Regions from separate parts of the Homo sapiens genome. Here all the other regions are linked to region 3. The links are contacts of gene promoters, found by promoter capture Hi-C in blood cells and fetal thymus (Javierre and others, 2016). All regions are on one chromosome and are shown on one strand. Each heading gives the region's core, a stretch centred on a gene start or on the middle of the fragment in contact. The rest is flanking DNA. Distances are from core to core; before and after follow the strand shown.

The links. The method cuts DNA at HindIII sites, captures the fragments that hold promoters and counts their contacts. A CHiCAGO score of 5 or more calls a contact.
Region 1: a contact is called between a fragment that was not itself captured here and the fragment with the promoter of NFE2L3 in region 3, in 16 of 17 cell types (megakaryocytes, fetal thymus, M2 macrophages and 13 more). The highest score is 16.3, in megakaryocytes.
Region 2: a contact is called between a fragment that was not itself captured here and the fragment with the promoter of NFE2L3 in region 3, in 2 of 17 cell types (fetal thymus and non-activated CD4 T cells). The highest score is 7.9, in fetal thymus.

What each region holds. Positions count from the first base shown.
Region 1 is chr7:25,893,197-25,896,691 of GRCh38, reverse strand. No RefSeq gene overlaps it. Among named protein-coding and RNA genes, the nearest start is that of MIR148A, 55 kb to the left of the region's middle. RefSeq lists an enhancer at 1,343-1,432. The HindIII fragment of the contact is 3,429 bases long and covers 112-3,495 here.
Region 2 is chr7:25,858,141-25,861,273 of GRCh38, reverse strand. No RefSeq gene overlaps it. Among named protein-coding and RNA genes, the nearest start is that of LINC03007, 70 kb to the right of the region's middle. The HindIII fragment of the contact is 9,868 bases long and covers 1-3,133 here.
Region 3 is chr7:26,150,576-26,153,881 of GRCh38, reverse strand. It overlaps NFE2L3 (NFE2 like bZIP transcription factor 3), which reads right to left and starts at 1,684. Exons shown (of 4, transcript NM_004289.7): 1 at 814-1,684. The coding sequence starts at 1,383. RefSeq lists enhancers at 596-785, 136-929, 930-1,724 and silencers at 906-975, 986-1,235, 1,346-1,415, 1,426-1,495, 1,516-1,895. The HindIII fragment of the contact is 3,470 bases long and covers 1-3,257 here.

The DNA.
Region 1 (3,495 bases), core at 577-3,076, 260 kb after region 3:
TGCTCTTATAGACAGTCAAATAAGCACTAAAAAATGACAAATTACCATGCTCTGATAGATCTTCACGTTTAAGTACCTACAAATAACTGTCCATTTGTGAATGGTTAAGCTTAATCCATTATTTTTCCTATAAGCAAGATAACCTCTTTCATAAATAGATATCTACAAATAATACTTAGAGCAGTTTAACTCTTAGATATAATAATGCCACAGTATGTAGAAAACGAAATAGGCTTACAAAAATAAAGCTAAATAGTTTATCCTTTTTTTGACCTTCACAAATGTAAGTGTTCTATCTATGGCTCTATAAATTGTTTAAATCCTTTAATGATGCAAATGCGCTGATAATGTTCCTATACTTGCTGGAACTATGGTTCTGTTAATATTTTGAAAATTACTTTAATTAACCTTATCTCATTTTGTAGTAGTTATAGAACACTTTTATATTTTTTAACTGTGCACTAATTTGTTTCATCATTAACCTTGGGTTTTACCCTTGGTAATTATGGTAATTCATAATTTGGGTTGTGTCAGGTGCTAGTGGATTCAAACAATACATATTGTGGGAACCATCAATAGCTTTGGTAGTCAGGATTCTTTAGTTTGCAGGGGACAGAAAAAAGGCTTGGCAGGCTGGAGGGTAGAGGGGCAGGGTTCCGCAGAAGATTCCCAGGAATGGTTTTTAGTTGGCCAAGGACTCTGGTGGAGGAAGGGGGATGCTGAGTGGCCTAGGTCAGGCACTTACCCGACCCTCCCTAACTCCTCCTTCTGAAATCAGAGAGGGAGGAATCTGTGATAGAAGAAGGAGGAAAAGGAATGGATAGCCCCAAACACTGCGCACTATAATAGTTAATCATATTGATAGTGAGCGCGCGGTCTCTCTCTCTCTTTCTCTCCAGGCAGCCAAAGACTGCCACCATATGCAACTGGGTCCTGCATTTTTCATCTGCATCACCAATTTGTCACTCGAAAACCCAGGTCTCAATCCTCCCTGATTTTTCCAGAAACACCACTAGTATCCAATTCAGTAGGTCCCTATCATGGGCAGTGCGGGGGCGCCGGGCGTGGGCGACGCTCGTGTGTGACTCGCAGCTGGGCAGCCATCCCCGCGGGCGTCCTGGCTCCCCTTCCCTCTGAAAGCGCCGGGGCGGGCCAGCAGGGGGCGAGTTTCATTTCCGCACCGGAGACCCAGCCGGAATCACAAATGCCGCGAACTACACCCTCCTTTCCTGATCTGGCCAGGAGTCTGTGTCATTAAAACTCTCAGTTCTGCTTTTCCCTATATTAACATTATCTTCATTTTGAGCACATCACGTTCAGTGACAGAAAAGGAGATCCCATGAGTCACTGGAGGTAGACTTAAAATAGCTTAAGGATGATATTTCATGGATGTTAGTGACATCAGTCGAAGAAGCAGTGCTTTCAAAGAGCAGAATTCCTCATATTCACTCTTCGGATACCCAGCAGTTTTCCAGGTCTTGGTCTATACCCAGCCTTTTTCTTGGAGGAAGGTGCTCATCTTCCCACACAGGCTACACAGGGGGCAGGGAAAGTTGGGACAGGTGGCACAAGGCCATGTGAAGCCCCCCGTCCTCCTGCCGGGGCATCTTACATATTGCTGCCACTGCCGAGGGGGCATATCTGTGTATAGCTGCCCAGCAGAGTACAGGGAAGGTGTTATGTGGGAAGGAAGACTCCTGGGTGGGTAGGAGTTTGGGCTAAGTCCCTCCTGGTCCAGGTAACTTAGCTGGCCCCTGCAGATATGAGTGGTGGGAGACGGGATCCGGCGGGTGAGAGAGGGGAACCACAGAACCACAGGCTTTTCTCAGGTCGGGGAAAGACCTTAGAGATCACTTAGCTCAATGTCTTCTTTTCCTGACGCCCAGGGAAATTGTGAACAAATTCACCACCACAGAACTAGGCAAGTCCCCTGGTGGGCAAATGGACACCTTCACAGAAGCCATTTTCTTTCCTTGTGTATTATGTATCAAAGGCTAACTGTTTAACAAGCAACCCCGTGTCACAGTGGCTTAACACAAAACAAGTTATTTCTTGCTCTTGGACCACTGAAAGCGTTTCTTGGACAGCTTCCATGCAGTGATTCAGGGACCCAGGCACCTTTCATTCTGTGGCCCCACCATCCCTAAGGGCCTTAATGTTTGCTGCTGAGTACTCTGCATCTGGCTGTGACAGGTAGAGAGAGAGAATGAAGGACTGTGCAGGAGGTGGGCAGGCCTCACTGCCACTCACATTCCACTAGCTAGACGCCACTCTCAGGGCCAACCTTCCCCCAAGGGGAGCTGGGAAATGTAGTCCAGCTGTGTGCACAGGAAGCAGATAGGATGGCTCGGGGCAAGCACACAGCAGTGTCTGCCTCACCTATCTTCAAAGAAAACAGTCTTTGAGTTCTTTTGGGTTATTTACACTGGGTAGCAGAAGGCACATGATCTTTGGAGGTGGACAGACTTGGGTTTGGATATTGGCAGTGTGACCTTGGGCAAAGAAGTAACCTTTAGCCTCAGTTTGCTCAGCTGGTAAATGGGGCTATCTTGTGGGTATTACCTGAGGTAAGGAATGTAACTTGTCTATGTTACCACGTGGTCTCACATGTTTGTTTGTACAAACCAATGGGGCTGGGAGTATTGTTGGGGGAGGAGGAAACAGACTTCCTGTGTCCCATTTCCCCCACTCTGGATGGCAGCACTGCCCAACAGCTTCATTAGACGCCAAGAGTGGTGGCACTTTCTTCTGTCACTTGTTAAATTTCGATGTAGTTCATTCTAATCAATATGGGACTTTGGAAGGAAAAAAAGCATTCCCCAAACCCACAAGCAACCATTTTATTTGATTCATAAAAATTCAGTCACTGAGAAGGCAGTTCCAGCAAGAGAGTTTTGATCCTTCTTGCTCAGGCTGAGATGGTCACATCTAGAAAGCAGTGATTTTAAAATCCTATTTTCTTCTGAAAAAAAAAAAAATTTTTCTGAAGGGCAGTGAAAAGAGAAATAATCTAAGCTGAAGTGTCACTTTTCACTTATGGATATTGATGCTCTAAGACTAAATCTGGCTGACAGGAGTAAAGAGAACTGCCTTCTCATCATGGGTGAGACCCTGCAGGGTGAGATGTGGCTCAGGTATCATGGTGTGCCCAGGGACTGGCACATTAGGGGCTTCAATAAATATTTGCTGGTTAAATTAATAGGTGATTGAAGACAGTTACAGAAGTAATAACAACGAAAACAATTTTTTGGCCTGAAACGTCACTTTTTTTTTTTTTTTTTTGCGGGGTGGGTGGAGGGGAGGCAGTGGAATCCTGCATTTTAGTTTTTGGATTCCCTGAATGGTTTCTTCAATCATAAATGTTTGCTAAACACACACACACACACACACACACACACACACACACACACACACGCTCATACACGCTCATACACATGCCGACATTCTATAGGAAGGTAAAATAAAGAGGAAGCCCAATTGTGTCTGCCTTTTTAG
Region 2 (3,133 bases), core at 513-3,012, 290 kb after region 3:
CGGTATCAGAACCCACACCTTAAGGAAATGTCTTTCATATTTTGAGTTGTGTTCGGTTGTGTTATTCCGAGGCCAAAATATAATCTTCTAAGCACCTACGGGGTTGGACCAGAGCCTCTCTCTTCGTGACAAAGACCCCCTTTGGAAACCTCCCGCAGCAACTTCTCACCCCAATAAATTAAATGCAGCCGCAGTGTGGTCCATTACACTGGAGTGTGAGGTGACGGCCCCTGTCAAAGGTGAACGGCCCAGTACAGCCCCTTAAATATTCCTACAGATAATAAATATCTGTGTAAGGAAGGGATGTAAAAGTTTCCTATTCGTTTGGAAAGCTCGGTACTACAACAATGAATAAACATTGCAGACTGATGAATGCCCCCAAGTCCCTCCACAGAGGCGGCGGGGAGAGAACCAGATCTTAAAAAATTTTTCACTCTAGGCCTGGAGGCCGGGTGCTGCGGCCACCCGTGCCTCGACGTGTTCCTCCGCACGGGCTCTAGGAATGTAAATACCACGAGTTGAGACAGGTCTGGGCCCCGGACAGAGCGGTCCGTGGTTTTAGCAATTCATTTTAATTCCGAAGCGGTCCAGTGCATTTGCTTTCACTTGGTTGCGCGGGGCTGGAATTGATAAGAGAGAAAACCATGTACTTGTCCTTGTGGGTTGGGAAACAGGGTCACTGAATCCTGGGCTGGCTCTCACAGCTTCCTGGCAGAGTTCACACACGCACTCAGAGGCTGCGCCAGCCCTGTACCGCAGGACTGCGGGCGCTCCCTTGCCGGCACTCCTCCTTCGGTTCAGAAACCAAAGTGGAAACGCATGGATCAAGTTGCAGGGAAGTCTGACATCTGGGACAGATGTTGCTCCTCTGCCCGTGGCGGTTCCTCAGATAAATCCTCATTGCTTTATTTTAATTTGCCTTTGAATTTCGTTATTTTTGCCTCAATGCAACACATAGTCTTTTTTTTTTCTGCTTTATTTAACTCTCACGGTCCTCTGCGCTATTTTTATCAATGGTATAACTTTATTTTGGGAAAGGGATTATTTCCCCCTCAGAAATGGGGGGAAATAATCAAATCTCCAGTCAATTATGTCTTGAAATTTAACTCTGCTTTTACTGGTCCATCATAAAACATTTAAACCGTTAAAAACATGTCCCTCACTGATCAACTTTAGTTGTTTTGTGTTTTAAAACATGGAAATACAACCCCTGTGTGTGTATGTCACATTACGGACAGACCATATTAATCTCTTTCTCACAGAAAAAACATCTGCGTGTGTGAGTCTAAGTAATTATTCATCTAGGGTAACAAATTCTAGAAGGCTTGACCTACCTTCCTTCCTCCCTTCCTTCCTCCCTTCCTTCCTTCTTTCCTTCCTTCCTTCCTTTTTCTTTTCCTTTCTCTTTTTCTTTTTTTGTGCTTCTTTGTATCTAATACCCAGGGGCATTAACAACATCTCCTCTGCCTCGTCTTCCCGTGTGTAGAGGGACCCGTCTCACGTCCAACAATAGATACCCCTTTTATTATATATTTTTCCTTTTGTTTTTCTTGACCAACAATTTCCCTTCAGTTATTTATTTTAGCTGGGTAACCCCAAGCTATATGCTCCGTGTAAACCAGAATGGTGTGGTCGGTTTTGTGACAGGTAGTGGCTTCCTGAGCTGGCTCTGATGCGCACCTCTGAGGCGAGCCAAGGCGGAAACTGTCATTCCTAGAGGAAAGCGATGCCCGTCTGGGAAGAATCTGGGAAACCCCAGCATTCCTATGAGCTGCGGCCCACTAAGCGCCCCTGACCGCAGTGATCACTGTCTCCTAGATTTTTTGACAATGTTGTTTTGCTTTGTTTTAAAATATTATCGTTACTGCTGAGAAACGTGGACTCTTATGATGAAGACCTGCCGGGCCTTCCCCAGCCATTTCACTCCCTGGCCTCCTCCAAGATGGCTTTCATTTAGGGAGGGTCAGACTCATCTAGGTGACATTTCCCCGAGCCTTTCAGTCAAGTTGGTCTACAAATTCACCAAATTAGTGCTTGGTCTACATCTAGGGCTTCCTGCACGGAAAGGCCAATAGAAAAGTCCACGACTTGACTTTTACGCCACATCACTACAGCCACAAAACGGGGACCTCCTCGGGACTGGAGGCGGATCCTCCACGGGTCCCCGGCCAGGCCCATCCTCCTCGCAGCGCGCCTGGTGCGGCCGTACCAATTCCGCGCCGTGCAGCCTGGAGTTACAGGCCCCGACCGAGCCAAGATCTGAGGCTGCCGGGCCCTCCCTGTTTACTGGGGGCTCTGCTACCGGAAGTCATTTGACAAATCTCAGGCAGGCCTTTCTAATCTTTACTGCTCGGCAGAGCTTTGCAAATCTCTAAACACGCTGTAACCTTCTTCAAACAGCACGCCAGACACACTTGAAGGTTTTTTTTTTTTTTTTGAGGCCGGACGGAATGGAAACTGCATCTGCACGGGATCTCTCCACAGTCTGGCCCGCAACACTGCCAGCACCTTCCCTAGACCCTCGCCTCCCCGCTTCCCCCGCACGCGGATTCTCGCGCATCCGTGCGCCCACTCAGCCCCGGGAGCCCTCCTGCCCCGGGAAGCCTCAGACGGTCTTGGGCTGGAGACTCACCCTGCGCCCCTGCAGCGGGCTGCGGGGAGAGAACCTTGGGGAACCAGGCAGGACCGGCAAGGGTGGACCGAGTGATTTATGACCCTGATCAAACTTTTTAGGAAGCAGAAATTAACCTGAGGGAGATTAGGCCTGAGCTTTGAAGTTCACGGTTTTGTTTTCCTTCAGCCCAGTTCTGCCATCAGATGGTTCTTGGTTCCTTCTACCCCTCTCCTCCTCCCCCTCCTTCGGTCTCTCGTCACCCCACTTTATCCTCCAGCAACCCCTCCTGCGTTGATTTTCTTAATTTCAAATACAAATATCTGAACACCAGAAACTGAAGTTCCTGACAGTGACCTATTGAACAGAGGCATCGCATACTCCCTACATCCCAGTCTTCTTGGAATTGCGTTTTACGTTTGAAAGTGCGATTTTGGTTTGGAGGTCGGGAGTAGAAAATTTGTATCTGTTCTTTTCTTTTGCTGTTTCCTACTTGCCTTTCAATACCCATACTTATTCCGC
Region 3 (3,306 bases), core at 435-2,934:
GTGGTTTTGTGGAAACTGGTGTTAAAGTGTCATTAGACTGAACTCAAACGTTCCATGGGGAGCACCAGATGTTTCAAGCAACAGATCTTGGTAAACTTGGTTTCAGAAAGAAGTTAAGCCAGAGAAGGGTTTGGACCCATAAACCAAAGGGAACTTGTTAGTCACTAAGTGACTGCCAAGGTACCTGTTTTCGTTATGCTAATAAGAGGTTACACAAATTCCAGGAAGGAGGATTGCTAGGTGCAGGGGATGGTTAGGTCACAGGGGGACCGCCTGCCGGCTGGCCTCTGAATAGACCCTGACCATGGCTCCTTAATCCAGGGAAGCAGCAAAAACGAACAGCAATTGGGCTGAAAACAGGGCGAAGGTCCTTGCGTTAGGCCGGGAGAGTCGTTCTTAAAAACATGCATCCTCCCAGAGGTCACGGCCTCCTTCACATCGTCCAGGTCGGGCACGGGTCCCAGAGAACGACACCCCAGTGTACATGAGGTACTGAGCGAAGACAGTGGGCATTGCTTCTCCCCTCCCCATCCCCGAACTACTCTTGCCAGCCATCACACACAAGGAAAGGTATTCTCTATAACCAAACGGATGATTTCGTCCACTTCTTCCTTAAACACCTAAAAACCACAGCGACAGCACTAGTAGCCCTTCATTCGGAATCAGAGCAGCAGCATCTGCGAACCTGCAAAGACCAGGGGCTAAGGGTGCCAGGACACAGCGAGAGTGGCCCCTGCTCAGATCCGACACAAGCCTCGGGGGCTCCCGGCGGCGTAGACGCCGCACTTCGCTCGCTTCCCGCTCTGCACCTACCTCGCTCGCACATCCGCCAGCGTCCGGCACCTGAGCCGTCGGTTCCGCGGGTGCCTTCTCCTCTTCCCCGGCGTCCAAGGGGCCACTCCGAGCCGCTCGGGGGTCCCCGCCGCCCCCCTGCACAGCCTGGCTGCCGCCGTCCACGCTGGCGCCGGCTCCTCCGGTGGACGAGGCGGCGGCGGCGCCGAGCAGCCCGTGGGCCTCGTCCGCGCTCCCGGCAGCCACGCTGTGCACCAGCCATGCATCCACGCTGGTGCGAGGGACGAAGGGGACCCCGAGCGCGCGCACCTCCCGGAGCAGCTGGCCCTCGGGCGGCGCGGCAGGGTCCAGCTCCCGGCCCTTGGGGTGCAAGTGGCCCGCGCGCCCCCACCCTCCCGAGGCCGAGAAGGGGCTGAGCGCGTAGGCGGAGCTGGCCGGGCCGCCCAGGAACAGCAGCTCGTCCTGCAGCAGGGTGGGCGGCGGCAGCAGCAGGTAAAGATCTAGGTCTACGCGGAGCCCCGCCAAGCTCAGCAGGAGGGTGAGGTGCAGGAGGCCGCCGCCGGCCGACCACCACCGCTTCAGGTGCTTCATCGCCGCCGCGCGCCCGGGAACGCCCCTGCCGGCGCCCGCGGGTCCCGGCGCCCCAGCCGCCGGGGTGACACGTGCGGACCCCGCGCGCCGCCCGCACCTGCCTGGAACCCAGATAAGCGAAACAATGGACCGGGGCGCGTGGCGGCCGTCGCGGGTTCCCAGCACCGGGCACAAAGGCGTTCCCTCGGCAGCCGGCACCGTGCCTGGCACCGCCGGGGATCGGGAGAAGCGAAGAAGGAGCCACCTGAGCGCCGAGCCCGTTCGCCCAGCCGCCCGCAGCCCGGCGCGGTGGCCAAGCTCCGCCCCCGGCCGCGGGCGCAGCCGACAGGAACACGCCCCCTGCCGCCCGGGGCCCGCGCCCGTGGGAGGGGCCGCACGGGGCGGGGCTCCCCGAGCTCAAAGCCTCTTTATGTCCGGGGAACGCAAGGCTTTCTGGGAGCAGAAGTTGTTCTGGGCACCAAGTGGCCCCTTGCCACCCTGTGGCCGTGAGCTGGGCCATCCTTGCTGAAAGCCAAGGGCGGGAGTTGGGGTGGAGGGCTAGGTGGTGGGTAGCTGGGTGGGAAGGGACAGGATGTGTAGACTGGGCGGAGAGTGACTGGGCAGCTACGAGGGGCCTGGCAGCTTGCAACGGGCTTCCACCCCAACGTGAGGACACTTGGCGGGCAGAGTGGGCAAGAGTAACCTCTCTGTCTCAGTTCCGCTATCTGTAAAATGGGGATCATAGAGCCTGTCAAACAGGGATGTGTTGAGGTCAGATGAAATATTTCGTGTAAAGTTCGGAGTTTCACATATAAATTCCACCGTTGCCATTGGGATCAGTCATCCCACCACTCCGCACACCCCAGTCCCAGCCTCACAGACCCCTCTCTCTTCTCTGGGCGTGCTCTGCATAGTGCTAGACCTCCTCTCGGTATCCTTTGCTCCTTATCCGTTGTTTCCTTGAGGGTTGACAGCACCAGCTCTACAGTTACCCTGAGTGAGTTCAAGTCCCCCCTCCACTTGAGGGGCGACCTTGGACAAATCTCTCCTTTTCTCTGTGCCTCAGTTTTCTCACTGTAAAATGAGACTAATAATAGCACCTCCCCAGCAGACCTTTTGTGAGCCCCAAATGAGATAATGCATGTAAACCACCGACCACAGCACTGCATGGGTAGGAAGTGCTCCCTGCTACCCATTGTTTGTGTTACTCACCCTCAAGGCTTAGCTCCAAAGCTACATCCTCTGAATTTTCACCAGTTGGCATTAATCTCTCCCCCATCTGTTGCACCGTGATTTCTCCGTTTGCCAACATTGTAACAGTTGGCCCATTCAACTCTGTGTTGTAGATGAGAATCGGTCTGATTTGCCCATTGTAAATTCTTGAGGACAAGGAACCTGTTTGGTTCACCTTTGTCCATGCACAGTACCCAGCACTGGGCCTTGCAAGGGTAGGTTTTACTAACCTTAGCTCCCTTCCTTGGAAGAAAAGGGGACAGGAGGGGATGCCCAACTGAGAATGGGCAGTTGTGTAAAAAGTTGAGCAAGACTTGTTTTAAAAGGCCCCTCCCTCCACCTGGCTTTCTCATCTCTCTCCTGGGCTAGTGTAGTAAGAAGAGAAAAGAATGGGGACCAGGGGAGCAGAAACAGGGGAGCAGAGGAAAGTTGCTTCCTCTGTGTTAAGCCTTGGAAGATGGGTTGGGGTGGCAAAGAGGATGAAGAAAGGTGATTGCCAGGTTATCAAGACCCCGTTCACAGCATTTAGTCTTTGAACAGCGGATTTAGAGTCTCAGCTTAGTAAATGCTGCCTTCAGCTTTTTACTGAGAACCTACTAACTGCCTGAGGCTGTGCTGGAGGCATGAAGGATATGAAACGGAGTTCTTTCCTTCCGTAAGCTTATGGTTTTACTAGGGAGATGAGATAAAAATTTGTGAGACACTAAGAAA